Regions from separate parts of the Homo sapiens genome. Here regions 2, 3 and 4 are each linked to region 1. The links are contacts of gene promoters, found by promoter capture Hi-C in blood cells and fetal thymus (Javierre and others, 2016). All regions are on one chromosome and are shown on one strand. The core of a region is centred on a gene start or on the middle of the fragment in contact, and the rest is flanking DNA. Distances in the headings are between cores, read along the strand shown. Region 1 holds the start of NARS2-AS1 (NARS2 antisense RNA 1). Region 2 overlaps GAB2 (GRB2 associated binding protein 2). Region 3 overlaps USP35 (ubiquitin specific peptidase 35). Region 4 overlaps ALG8 (ALG8 alpha-1,3-glucosyltransferase).

Region 1 (2,700 bases), core at 107-2,606:
ACAGAATAGGTAAATCCATAGAGACAGATGGATGAGAGTCATGGTTTGTGTAGAGGGGAAAATGGGATGTAACTACTAAATGGGCACAGGGTTTTCTTCTGGGGTGGTAAAAATGTTTGGAACTTAACAGAGGTGGCAGTTGTAAAATACTATGAATGTACTAAATGCCACTGAAATGTACCTTTTAAAATGCTTAATTTTATGACATAAATTTCACCTCAATTCTTGAAAGTAATTATTGAATCTTAGTAGCTTCAAAAACTACCAACCTAGGATTGCAAATTTAAGATTTAGGATTGTAATCTTAAATTTGTAATCTTACGTACTTATGGTAGTGATAAAGAAACAATACAATATATGAATTAAACACCCAACTTTGTGACTTTATCAGTGGGGAAGGATTTCTTTAACAAAAGCTCCAAATTGCCAACGATAAAAGGAAAAACTGATGAATTTATATATGTTAAAATTAAGAATTTCTATTTAATAAAGGAAGATATAGGCAAAGTTAACAGACAAATGACAGATTATGAATGAAATATTTGCAACATCTAAAACCGCCAAGTGATTAATGGACAGAATATATAAGGAACTCCTGCCAAGAAAACAAAAAAAGAGAAAATAATCTGCTCCCCAAATGAGAAAGAAGATATACAGAAATGAAGACTCAAATGGCTAATGTGAAAATAATTTAAATGAAAGCTGCTGAAACTTTAAATTACTCTGAGCCTTGAATAAAATGTGATTGATTGTAAGACCTAGCTCATACGGGCAAGTCACTACAACTTTTGTTTCTTCCTATTACAGATTAACCTTCTTTCTTATTTTTCTTGCCCTGTAAAACGTTGTGAAAGATTAAATGGTGCCCCTTACCTCTTAGTTACTAATTCTTTGTTATAGATTAACATCCTTCCTTTTTCATGTACCCAGCTCAGACCAGATGGCGAAAGGCCCCATGACTACCAAATTGATAGGGATGCAATTTTAAATATATCTTTCCTGAAAAAGAATAAGCTGTAACCAATCAAACTGCTGTAACTCATAAATCAGCATTGTATTAAAAATGTGGTAATACTTGTAAACTTCTTTGCTTCTACTTATATAAGTGAAGCCTCAGCTTCTCCACTTCTCAGCAATGACCCAACTACTCTGGAGTCTTGTTTTTTCTGGGTGGCCAGTCTCAAATTTTGCACTTGAACAAACTCTTTTAAAATTGGATTCTGGGCCTCTTGATTATTTCAGGGTGACATTTTGGTGAACCAGATGGGACCCAAATTAGGCCTTCATTGACTCCTGCTGTTTTGCCAACAGCTGGAGCCCCAGCACCAGCATGGACCGTTGCATCCAACTGACCTCGCTGAAGACTGCAGAAGCCCTTGGTCAGACTACTCTCAAGGTTGAATCTCCCTGGCTTGACTGAGATTCAGACTTTATGGAACCTGATTCAACAACTGATGAGACTGGAATTGAAGCACTACTTTAAGGTAGGCGTTTAGTTTGTTATTCTCTTATTCCATTATTTGTGTATATTTGTGATTTTTTCACTTTTCTCTGAGATTAAAAAGTCTTGCTTGTCTTATTCACTACAGTTTGTAACCTTTTCTCTCATTTGAAATTTTATCATGGAGAAAGCAGTTTCTCTTTGAAAAGAGGAAGTGAATGTCTACAGCTTAGGCAAATTTTCTTAAACTGGCCAGATCTAAAGCTCCATTCAATTTGGCACATTTAAAATTTCCTTTTGAGTGACCAAAGTTTATAAAAGACTTTATGAGCACAAGAAAAGTCCCAAAGACAAGGGGAACTGTACCTCCTGGCTGAAAGGCACCTTAGGCAACCAAGGAGTCTCCCAGGAGTGTCAGAGCATATCACTCATAACATGTAACAGTCCCACAGGATTTGGACAAATACATACTGACATGTATCCACCACTACAGTATCATACAGAATAGTTTCACTGCCCTAAAAATATGTGCTCCACCTAGTTATCCCTCCCTTTCCCCTAACCCCTGGAAACCATGATCTTTTTACTTTCTCCATAGTTTTGTCTTTTCCAGAATGTCACACAGTTTAAATCATACAATATGTAGCCTTTTCAGATTGGTCTCTTTGACTTAGTAATTTGCATTTAAAGTTTCTCCAGGTATTTTCATAGCTTGATAGCTCATTTTTTTTCAGTGCTGAATAATATTTTACTGTCTGGATGTAACAGATACAGTTTATTTCTCCATTTACCTAATAAAAGGCATCTTGGTTGCTTCCAAGTTTTGGCAATTATGAATAAAGCTGCTTTGTAAACATCCATGTGCACGTTTTTGTGTGGATATAAGTTTTCCACTCCTTTGGGTAAATACCAAGGAGCAGAACTGCTGGTTCTTATGGTTGGAGTATATCTAGTTTTGCAAGAAACTGCCAAACTATACTGCAAAGTGGCTGTTAAATCTGCTGCTCCACATCCTTGTCAGCATTTGGTGTTGTCAGTGTTATGGATGTTGGCCGCTCAATAGGTACATAGTGGTACTGACTGGCTTTTTAGTGTGCTTTGTGCATCATTTTCTACGGATCACATGGTTCATACACTACTACCTTCAGCCATTACACTGAGTAGCAGTTATTTTTTTTAGGAATCTATGAGCCAGAATTTCTTGGAATGTTGGTACACCTAAAAAGTAAGAAACATGGGGAATGTTCTGTAAGTTCCTT
Region 2 (2,700 bases), core at 158-2,657, 290 kb before region 1:
ATGTAAATTAGTACAGTCGTTATGGAAAACAGTATGAAAGTTCCTCAAAAAACTAACAATAGAACTACCTTATGATCCAGCAATCCCATTACTGGGTATATATCTGAAGGAAAGGAAATCAGTATGTTAAAGAGCTATTTGCACCCCTATGTTTATTGCATCATTAGTCACGATAGCCAAGATAATGGAATCAACCTAAGTGGTCATCAACAGATAAATGGATAAAGAAAATGTAGTATGAGTCCATGTATATGAGGCATCTAGAGAAGTCAGACTCACACAGACAGAAAGTAGAATGGTGGTTTTCAGGGCCTGAGGGAAGGGGAAATGGGGAGTTGTTGAATGGTTAGAATTTCAGTTTGGTAAGATGAAAAGATTTCTGGAGATTGATTATATAACAATATGAATGTACTTTACTGAACTGTGCACTTAAAAATGGTTAAGATGATATATTTATGCTATGTATTTACTACAATTTTTGAAAAGAAAAAATCATTCAGAGGAAGGAAAATACATATAGAATAATAAAAATTAAAATAACTGCTGATCTCTCATCAGAAACAATGAAGGTCAGAAGACTAGAATGGTATCCTTTAAATGCTGAAAGAAAACAGAACTGTCATTCTGGAATTCTATACCTAGCAAAATCTCTCTCAAAACTGAAGGTGAAATTAAGAAATTTCCAGATAAATGAAAGCTGGGAAAATTTCTCACCAGGCCACTCACATGGCAAGAAATGGCAAAGGGAGCTCTTCATACTAAAGAGTAAGAAAACCAGGTGAAAACCTCACTAGACATTGTTTGAGTTTTGCTTCTAACACTTATACATATTTTAAAGAAGTTAAAACGGAAAAATAATCTTTCACAGTTATGCAGGGATTTACTATTTCTGTTGCTCTTCCTTCATTCCTGAAAATTCAAGTTTCCTTCTAGTACCATCTTGCTTCAGCCTGAGGAAATTTCTTATCAGTTTTTAAAAGCAGATCTCTTGGAAATGCTCTTATTTTTCCTTTATCTGAGAACGTCTTAATTTTGTTTACATTCCCAAAGGATACTTTTGCCGAATATAAACTCCTTGGTTGGCAGAGGGTTTTTTTATTTTCTTTTTTTCTTTTTTTTTTTTGAGACGGAGTTTTGCTCTTCTCGCCCAGGCTGGAGTGCAATGGCGCAACCTCCGCCTCCAGGGTTCAAGCGATTCTCCTGCCTCAGCCTCCCAAGTAGCTGGGATTACAGGCGCCCACCACCATGCCTGGCTAATTTTTTTGTATTTTTAGTAGAGACGGGGTTTCACCATGTTGGCCAGGCTGGTCTCGAACTCCTGACCTCAGATGACTCACCTGCCTCGGGCTCCCAAAGTGCTGGGATTACAGGTGTGAGCCACAGTGTCCGGTGGCAGAGGGTTTTTTCTTTCCATTAGTTTCAAGTGTGTTTTCCTTTATTACATGGAATGTTGTTTTCACAGGAGCTTTGAAATCTGTGTCTGATAATTCCAACATCTGGGTTATTTTGAGGTTTGTACCTGTGACTTCCATTGAGAATGGGTTATATTTTTCTGGTTTTCAATATGCTGAGACATTTTGGATTACAGATCCTGAATGCTGTGAACATGATGTTGTGTAGATGCTGGGTTCTGTTATAATCCCATGGAGAAGTGCTATTTTTTTGTTTGTTTGTTTTGAGACAGGGTCTCACTCAGTTGCCCAGGCTGGAGTGCAGTGGCGTGATCTCGGCCCACTGCAACCTCCACCTCCTGGCTTCAAGCGATTCTCCTGCCTCAGCCACCTGAGTAGCTGGGATTACAGGGGCCCACTACCAAGCCCAGCTAATTTTTGTATTTTTAGTAGAGATGGGGTTTCACCATGTTGGCCAGTCTGATCTTCAACTCCTGACCTCAGGTGATCTGCCCACCTCAGCCTCCCAAAGTGCTAGAATTATAGGCGTGAGCCACCGCACCCGGCCGAGAAGTGATATTTTTATAGGAAATCAACCTGGTTAGGCTCAGACTGCAAGTTCTGTCTCTCCTCCTGTGTATGGTAGTTCAAATCTTCTTTCAGTTCACATAGGCTTTGTTGCACTCGATTCGGTTTGTCCCACACATGTGTAGCCCAAGGTGATCCTAAGACTCACATAGTTTCATTCCCAGAGTTAGAAGATCCCTTCTCCAGCTCTCTTCATTCTGGAATATACTAGCTCCTTCCAGCCCCAATGGGGCTCCTCTTCTGGTTCCCCTACTCAGAAAGATGGGGTTTTTTATGACATTTTAGCCATTTGCACTGTGCTACTTTGTGATGGGGCCCAACCTGGAGGCAAATGCATGAAAGACAAAAAGTTCATCTCTGTGTAGTCACTTCTACAAGTTCTTCTCCTCTTTACAATCTATCTCCTTTTATTTATTTTTCAGAGTCTTTGGGTATTGCACTTTGGATTTTGTCCAGAGTTTTTAGTTGTAATCAGTGGGAAGGAAAGCCTGTGGTGGCTTCCACCACCATAGTGGAACTGGAACTACCCAATTCTTTTTCGGTTTCTACATCCATCCTAAAATCCACCATCTCTTCACCTATTATATCCTTTACCCACAATAGATTAAAAAATTAACATAATTATTTTAAAGTCTTGTAGGCTGGGTCCAAAATATGGGTTTATTTTGATCTCTTTCTAGATACTGAGTTCTCTCAACTATGGGTTAATGTATACGGTTTC
Region 3 (2,700 bases), core at 139-2,638, 330 kb before region 1:
CTTAAGGCAGTCCTGACCTGAAAGACCATGGAGGCAGCCCATATGTCAACTGAAGGGGTTTGGAAGCAGGGGGCTGTTCACACACACCCCAGAACATCTGTGGGGGGGTGTGCCTGGGAGGCCTTGGGGTTGGCTGTATCTGAGAAGGCCTCCCAGAAGAGGTGGTAGTTTTTTGAGCTGACCCTGGTGCCCACCATCCTGCCTGCCTGCTTATTCCCTCCTCAGGACCTCCATGTTCCCAATGAGGACCGCATCAAGCAGCTGCTGGGGCAGGATGCCTGGACTTCGCAGAAGAGCGAGCTGGCGGGTTTCTATCCCCGGCTCATGGCCAAGTCAGACACGGGCAAGATTGGTCTCATCAACCTGGGCAACACATGCTATGTCAACAGCATCCTTCAGGCCTTATTCATGGCGTCTGAGTAGGTGCTGCTTTGGAATTCCCTGTCTGCCCTTGCTTCTCTCCTCTGGGCTCCCTGATGACAGGTGGAAAGGTGTCCGGGGTGGGGGTTGGAGAGGGTGGGCCTTGCTTTGCATTGCCAGCATGATTCCCTGAGGTCTGTGGGGACAGAGAGCCTCAGGCCATTGCCAAGGCAGGTCAGGACTGGATGGGAACTCAAGAAGGGGCTTAAGGGGCTGGGCAGCCCTGGGAAGTGGGGTCTGCTCTGGGTTGGCTGACATCACTGACTTTTCTTCTAGAGTCTGTGGGGGTGGATTTTGTCTTCCAGAGTAGAACTGCCACCCATCCTGGTATTAGACATCTCTCTCTTTTAAAATGAAACAAACACAATCTTTATAGTCTATGGCCACCTATCTACCTTATGGCTTACTTAAAAGATCAAAGTTTCAGCTTTGATTCAGTGAAAATAAGCTTTGATTCTGGCTTATCGTATGTCCTCAAGTCAGTTTCTTTTCTCTGAGCGTCAGGTTCAGTGGGAGGAGATTGGAGCTGATCTCCAAGTCTTTCTAAGGTGCTGCTGGTGCACGTTCTTCTCAAAACGCCTAGTGAAGGACTAGTTTTGTTTTTCTTTTCTAATTCCAGTCTGCTGCAGAATATTACTTTTGTAAAATATAACAAAACGACTTACTAGAAAAACGGTCACGTGCTTGTATGGTGGTTGTGATGTTAAAATGCTGTGTATGTTTCTAAGTGCTCGCTCAGCTTCTGAACTTACCTTGTTCTGAGACCCAGAGCTGCTTGTGAGAACAGGAGATAAGCTGGGGCCTGGGAATTGGCTTGCTCCAGAGAATGTTCGTGTAGGGAGGGGAGCTATCTCCTATAGGATCAGACCCTTCCCACTAGGAGCCAGTCTACCCATCCCTAAAGGGTCCTCTTCGTTTAGCGTATTCCTCACATTGACCTCTGCCTCCCTCATTGGAAGGCAGGGGAACAGCTTGAGATTGCTCTAGGGGCAGGGGCCAGGGCCCTGACAGGGGCTGTAGGAGTCGATTGGAGGGCCCAGGTCAGAGCAGAGTCTGCTGCTCTGGAGGTGGATGAATGCCTTTCCCCAGGGAAGCAGCTAATAAGGGTGTGCGAGGGGCTGCTGCGGCTGGGATGATATTGGCATGGATCCTGTGGCATGTCCTAACCCTAGAATCCTGGGACCACAGGACCTTAGGACGTTTGAATCTTTAAGTCCTGAACGTAGGTCTCAGAGCTGGAAGGGGCTACAAGGGTCACCTTTGTACCCTTCATTGTCTAAAACATGTCTATTGTTGTGTTCCTGACCTCAGATACCCCAGGCTGAGTTGTTCACCTGCTCCTCCTCCCCAGCCCCTGGCTTCTGGCTCCGTCTTGGGGCAGAAATGTCTGTTCTGCCTTTGGCCTAGAGGCTCTGGGCTGCCTGTGACATGGGTGACTAGAGACTCCTTGGGGGCCCATGGCTTACCCTGGGTGCCCCTGCTTTGTTTTGAAGCTTCAGACATTGTGTGCTCCGCTTGACTGAGAACAACTCACAGCCCCTGATGACCAAGCTGCAGTGGCTCTTTGGCTTCCTAGAACACAGCCAGGTGAGTGTAGGGGCAGTCAGAGGGGGGTGGAGAGGCAGCTCTGGTCAGGCCCCGACATGGACACCTTTCCCTTCCCCAGGACCTGCCTGCATCTGGCTGTCATCTCCCATGTCAGTTGCTGAGCCCCTGGCCGGGCTGGCATATGGAACTGATTTAGTGCCCTGCTGGGGCAGGAGAAGGCGGGCCCCCTTGAGCCCTGTTCCGTGTTGTGCTGCCCAATCTTTCCCTTTGGCAATTCAGTCCATCCATCGCATTATGGTGTTGCCATAGTCCATTTTATGCTGCTAAAACCAAATACTCGAGGCTTGGTGATTTATGAAGAAATTTATTTCTCAGTTTTGGAAGCTGGGAGGCCCAAGATCGAGGGGCTGTGTCTGGTGACGGCCTTCTTGCTGCATTATAATGTGGGTAGAAGGCATCACAGGGTGTGAGAGCATGCATGAGAGAAGGGAAAGCGGGATGAACTCACCCTTTTATCAGGAACCTGCTCCTGTCTCCATTTGTGGCTGCTGGGGAAAGCAAACGGCCTGTGATAAGGAAATAATACATTCCTGAGGGCAGAGTGCTCAGGACCTCATCCTCTCTTGAAGGTCCCATCTCTTAACACTGCTGCACTGGGGATTATGTTTCCAACACATGCTTTTTGGAGGACACAGTCACACCACAGCATGTTGCTTCATTCTGCTGTTATTT
Region 4 (2,700 bases), core at 1-2,500, 420 kb before region 1:
TGTTGAAAAGAGAAATGAAACTGATTAAACAGTCATCAATCTTTTTCAAATTCAAAAAGAGAACTAGGGAACTCTCTATGGTATAGTGTGTAGAAAGTTATGGGGTCTGGGTTCTAGTAAGTAAGTGGTTATATGCTCACCACAATGTAAGTTCACAGAACCTTCTTTTGGTCTCACTTTGTCCACTGTCCAGTGGGACAATATACATAAAAATACTCTGAATACCCGTCCATACTATTATAATAACAGAAGAATTTACAAGCTACAAAGCAGAACACAGACTGCAGCTTATCCATGTCTACTAGGGTGAAGGGGAGAGCTGGGAAACTACAAAAGATGTGACGCGTTTCAGTTTTAGTAAGAATTAAAATTAATTAGTTGATTTCAGGGCAGGGAAGAAGAGGAAGAAAGAAAACATCTGAACATCTGTTAAATTCTATGCACTTTAGAATGTCTGCTGTCCATGTAAGACTGCAAAATTATTGATTTTGTTACAAATACATTTTATCAAGTAAGTAAACTTACAAGTACAGAATACACAAATAATGAAGATCAATTCTGTGTTTGTGTATGTGTAATGTACAGTTAAACATATACATGTATATATATATACATATTTGAATGTGCACAAAAATGTCTGAAAGAATACTACCTTATCGGGCCAAGAGCGGTGGCTCATGCCTTTAATCCCAGCACGTTGGGAGGCTGAGGCAGGTGGATCACCTGAGGTCAGAAGTTCGAGTCCAGCCTGACCAACATGTTGAAACCCTGTCTCTACTAAAAATACAAAAATTAGCCAGGCATGGTGGCATGTGCCTGTAATCCCACCTACTCAGGAGGCTGAGACAGGAGAATCGCTTGAATCCAGGAGGTGGAGGTTGCAGTGAGCCGAGATCACGCCACTGCATTCCAGCCTGGGCGACACAGTGAGACTCCATCTTAAACAAAAACAAAAAAAAAAAAGGAATACTGCCCTATCTTTGGGGAGTCACGTTGGGTAAGGAGTAAGAAAAAAGTAGCTTTTACTTATTTTACATATTCCTGGCTTTATTAGGTTTTCTAAACACCAACAAAGAACATGTATTAATTGAAAAAAAAAAAAAAAAAGGCTTACCAAGGCCAGGAAAGGACCCAATGAAAGAGCAGAAACTAAGAAAACAACCAGTCCCAGGGAAATAACACGAACAAAGCTGAAACTCTTCCATCGAATAGACCCATCTACAGAAAAGGAACATTATCAGTAACCAGGAAGATGGAAAGGAACATTAACCATAACCTATATCATGTGCTAAAACTAGAAGTATCCCACAATAGTATACCAATCTATTCATGATGTGGCAAGAGCAGAGAAAAGCGAGAATGGGTAAAGGGCTTACAGGATTAGCAGCTGAGATATCTGCTGTGCTTCATAAAACCTTCTTATCAAGCAAGCCACCAAGTCAACACAGTAAGGGAAAAATCGAAAATGTTTTTGCTATTATTACCAAAACTTGCCTGGTTTATTTGCAGTGAAACAGTAGGATCGCAGCAGATATACACCATAAGCTGGTGCTACATAGAGGTAGATATGCTTGAAATGTAGGAGAACAGCAAAGAGAAATGCTCCTTCCATATGCCTTTTCTAGGAGATTTAAAAGGGAAATATCACTTTAAAATTCAGGGTAAATGAAATGCAATAATGTGGTATTCTAGATTGAATCCTGGAACAGAACAAGGACATTAAAGGAAAAACGGGTGAAATTCAAATGCATCAATATTGCTTTCTTAGTCTTGATGAATGTACCATGGTTATGTAAGGTGGTAATGGGGGAAAATGGGTGAGGGATATATAGGAACTCTCTGTACTATTTCTACAACTTTTCTGGAAAGCTAAAATTATCCTACAAAAAGGTTATTTAAAAAACTAAAATTAGGCTAAGTGTGGTGACTCACACCTGCAATCCCAGCACTTTGGTAAGCCGACGTGGAAGGATTGCTTGACCCCAGGAGTTCAAGACCAGCCTGGACAAAATAGGGAGGCCCTGTCTCTACAAAAAAATAAAAAATAAAAAAAATTAGCTAGGCGTGATGGCTTGCACCTGTAGCACCAGCTACTCTGGAGGCTGAGGTGAGAGAATCTGCTTTAGCCCAGGAGGTGGAGGCTGCAATGAGCCATGATGACGACACTGCACTCCAACTTGGGTGACAGAGTGAGACCCTGTCTCCAAAATGAATAAATAAATAACAAAAATAAACAATACCTACTTTTTTAAATTTTTATTTTATTTTATTTTATTTGAGATGGAGTCTCCCTCTGTCTTACCCAGGCTGAAGTGCAGTGGCACAATCCTGACTCACTGCAGCCTCCGCCTCCTCGGTTCAAGCAATTCTCCTGTCTCAGCCTCCCGAGTAGCTGGGACTACAGGCGTGTGCCAACACACCCGGCTAATTTTTGTATTTTTTAGTAGAGACAGGGTTTCACCATGTTGGCCAGGCTGGTCTCAAACTCCTGACCTCAGGTGATCCACCTGCCTCGGCCTCCCAAAGTGCTGGGATTACAGGCGTGAACCGCCATGCTTGGCCCAAGGTAAATATTCTATAACCAGTATAAGGAAAACATAGGCAAGTGATTCCAGCTAGCTTTTTTTTTGAGACGGAGTTTTGTTCTTGTTGCCCAGGCTGGAGTGCAATGGCACGGTCTCGTTTACTGCAACCTCCACT

Evidence for each region. Contacts are between HindIII fragments. The CHiCAGO score rates a contact against its expected background, and 5 or more counts as called.
Region 2: a fragment that was not itself captured here is called in contact with the fragment with the promoter of NARS2-AS1 in region 1 in 1 of 17 cell types (M2 macrophages); the score reaches 5.1 in M2 macrophages.
Region 3: a contact is called between a fragment that was not itself captured here and the fragment with the promoter of NARS2-AS1 in region 1, in 1 of 17 cell types (monocytes). The highest score is 5.9, in monocytes.
Region 4: a fragment that was not itself captured here is called in contact with the fragment with the promoter of NARS2-AS1 in region 1 in 1 of 17 cell types (naive CD4 T cells); the score reaches 5.0 in naive CD4 T cells.

What each region holds. Positions count from the first base shown.
Region 1 is chr11:78,531,820-78,534,519 of GRCh38, forward strand. It overlaps NARS2-AS1 (NARS2 antisense RNA 1), which reads left to right and starts at 1,357. Exons shown (of 4, transcript NR_120566.1): 1 at 1,357-1,484. All of the region lies in intron 5 of NARS2 (asparaginyl-tRNA synthetase 2, mitochondrial), which reads right to left. The HindIII fragment of the contact is 6,934 bases long and covers 1-2,700 here.
Region 2 is chr11:78,244,840-78,247,539 of GRCh38, forward strand. All of the region lies in intron 3 of GAB2 (GRB2 associated binding protein 2), which reads right to left. Among named protein-coding and RNA genes, the nearest start is that of USP35, 57 kb to the left of the region's middle. The HindIII fragment of the contact is 3,122 bases long and covers 1-2,700 here.
Region 3 is chr11:78,205,617-78,208,316 of GRCh38, forward strand. It overlaps USP35 (ubiquitin specific peptidase 35), which reads left to right. Exons shown (of 11, transcript NM_020798.4): 7 at 226-419; 8 at 1,914-2,007. Among named protein-coding and RNA genes, the nearest start is that of USP35, 18 kb to the left of the region's middle. The HindIII fragment of the contact is 1,045 bases long and covers 867-1,911 here.
Region 4 is chr11:78,112,772-78,115,471 of GRCh38, forward strand. ALG8 (ALG8 alpha-1,3-glucosyltransferase) reads right to left here. Exons shown (of 13, transcript NM_024079.5): 6 at 1,495-1,621; 7 at 1,115-1,218. Among named protein-coding and RNA genes, the nearest start is that of ALG8, 26 kb to the right of the region's middle. The HindIII fragment of the contact is 6,042 bases long and covers 1-2,700 here.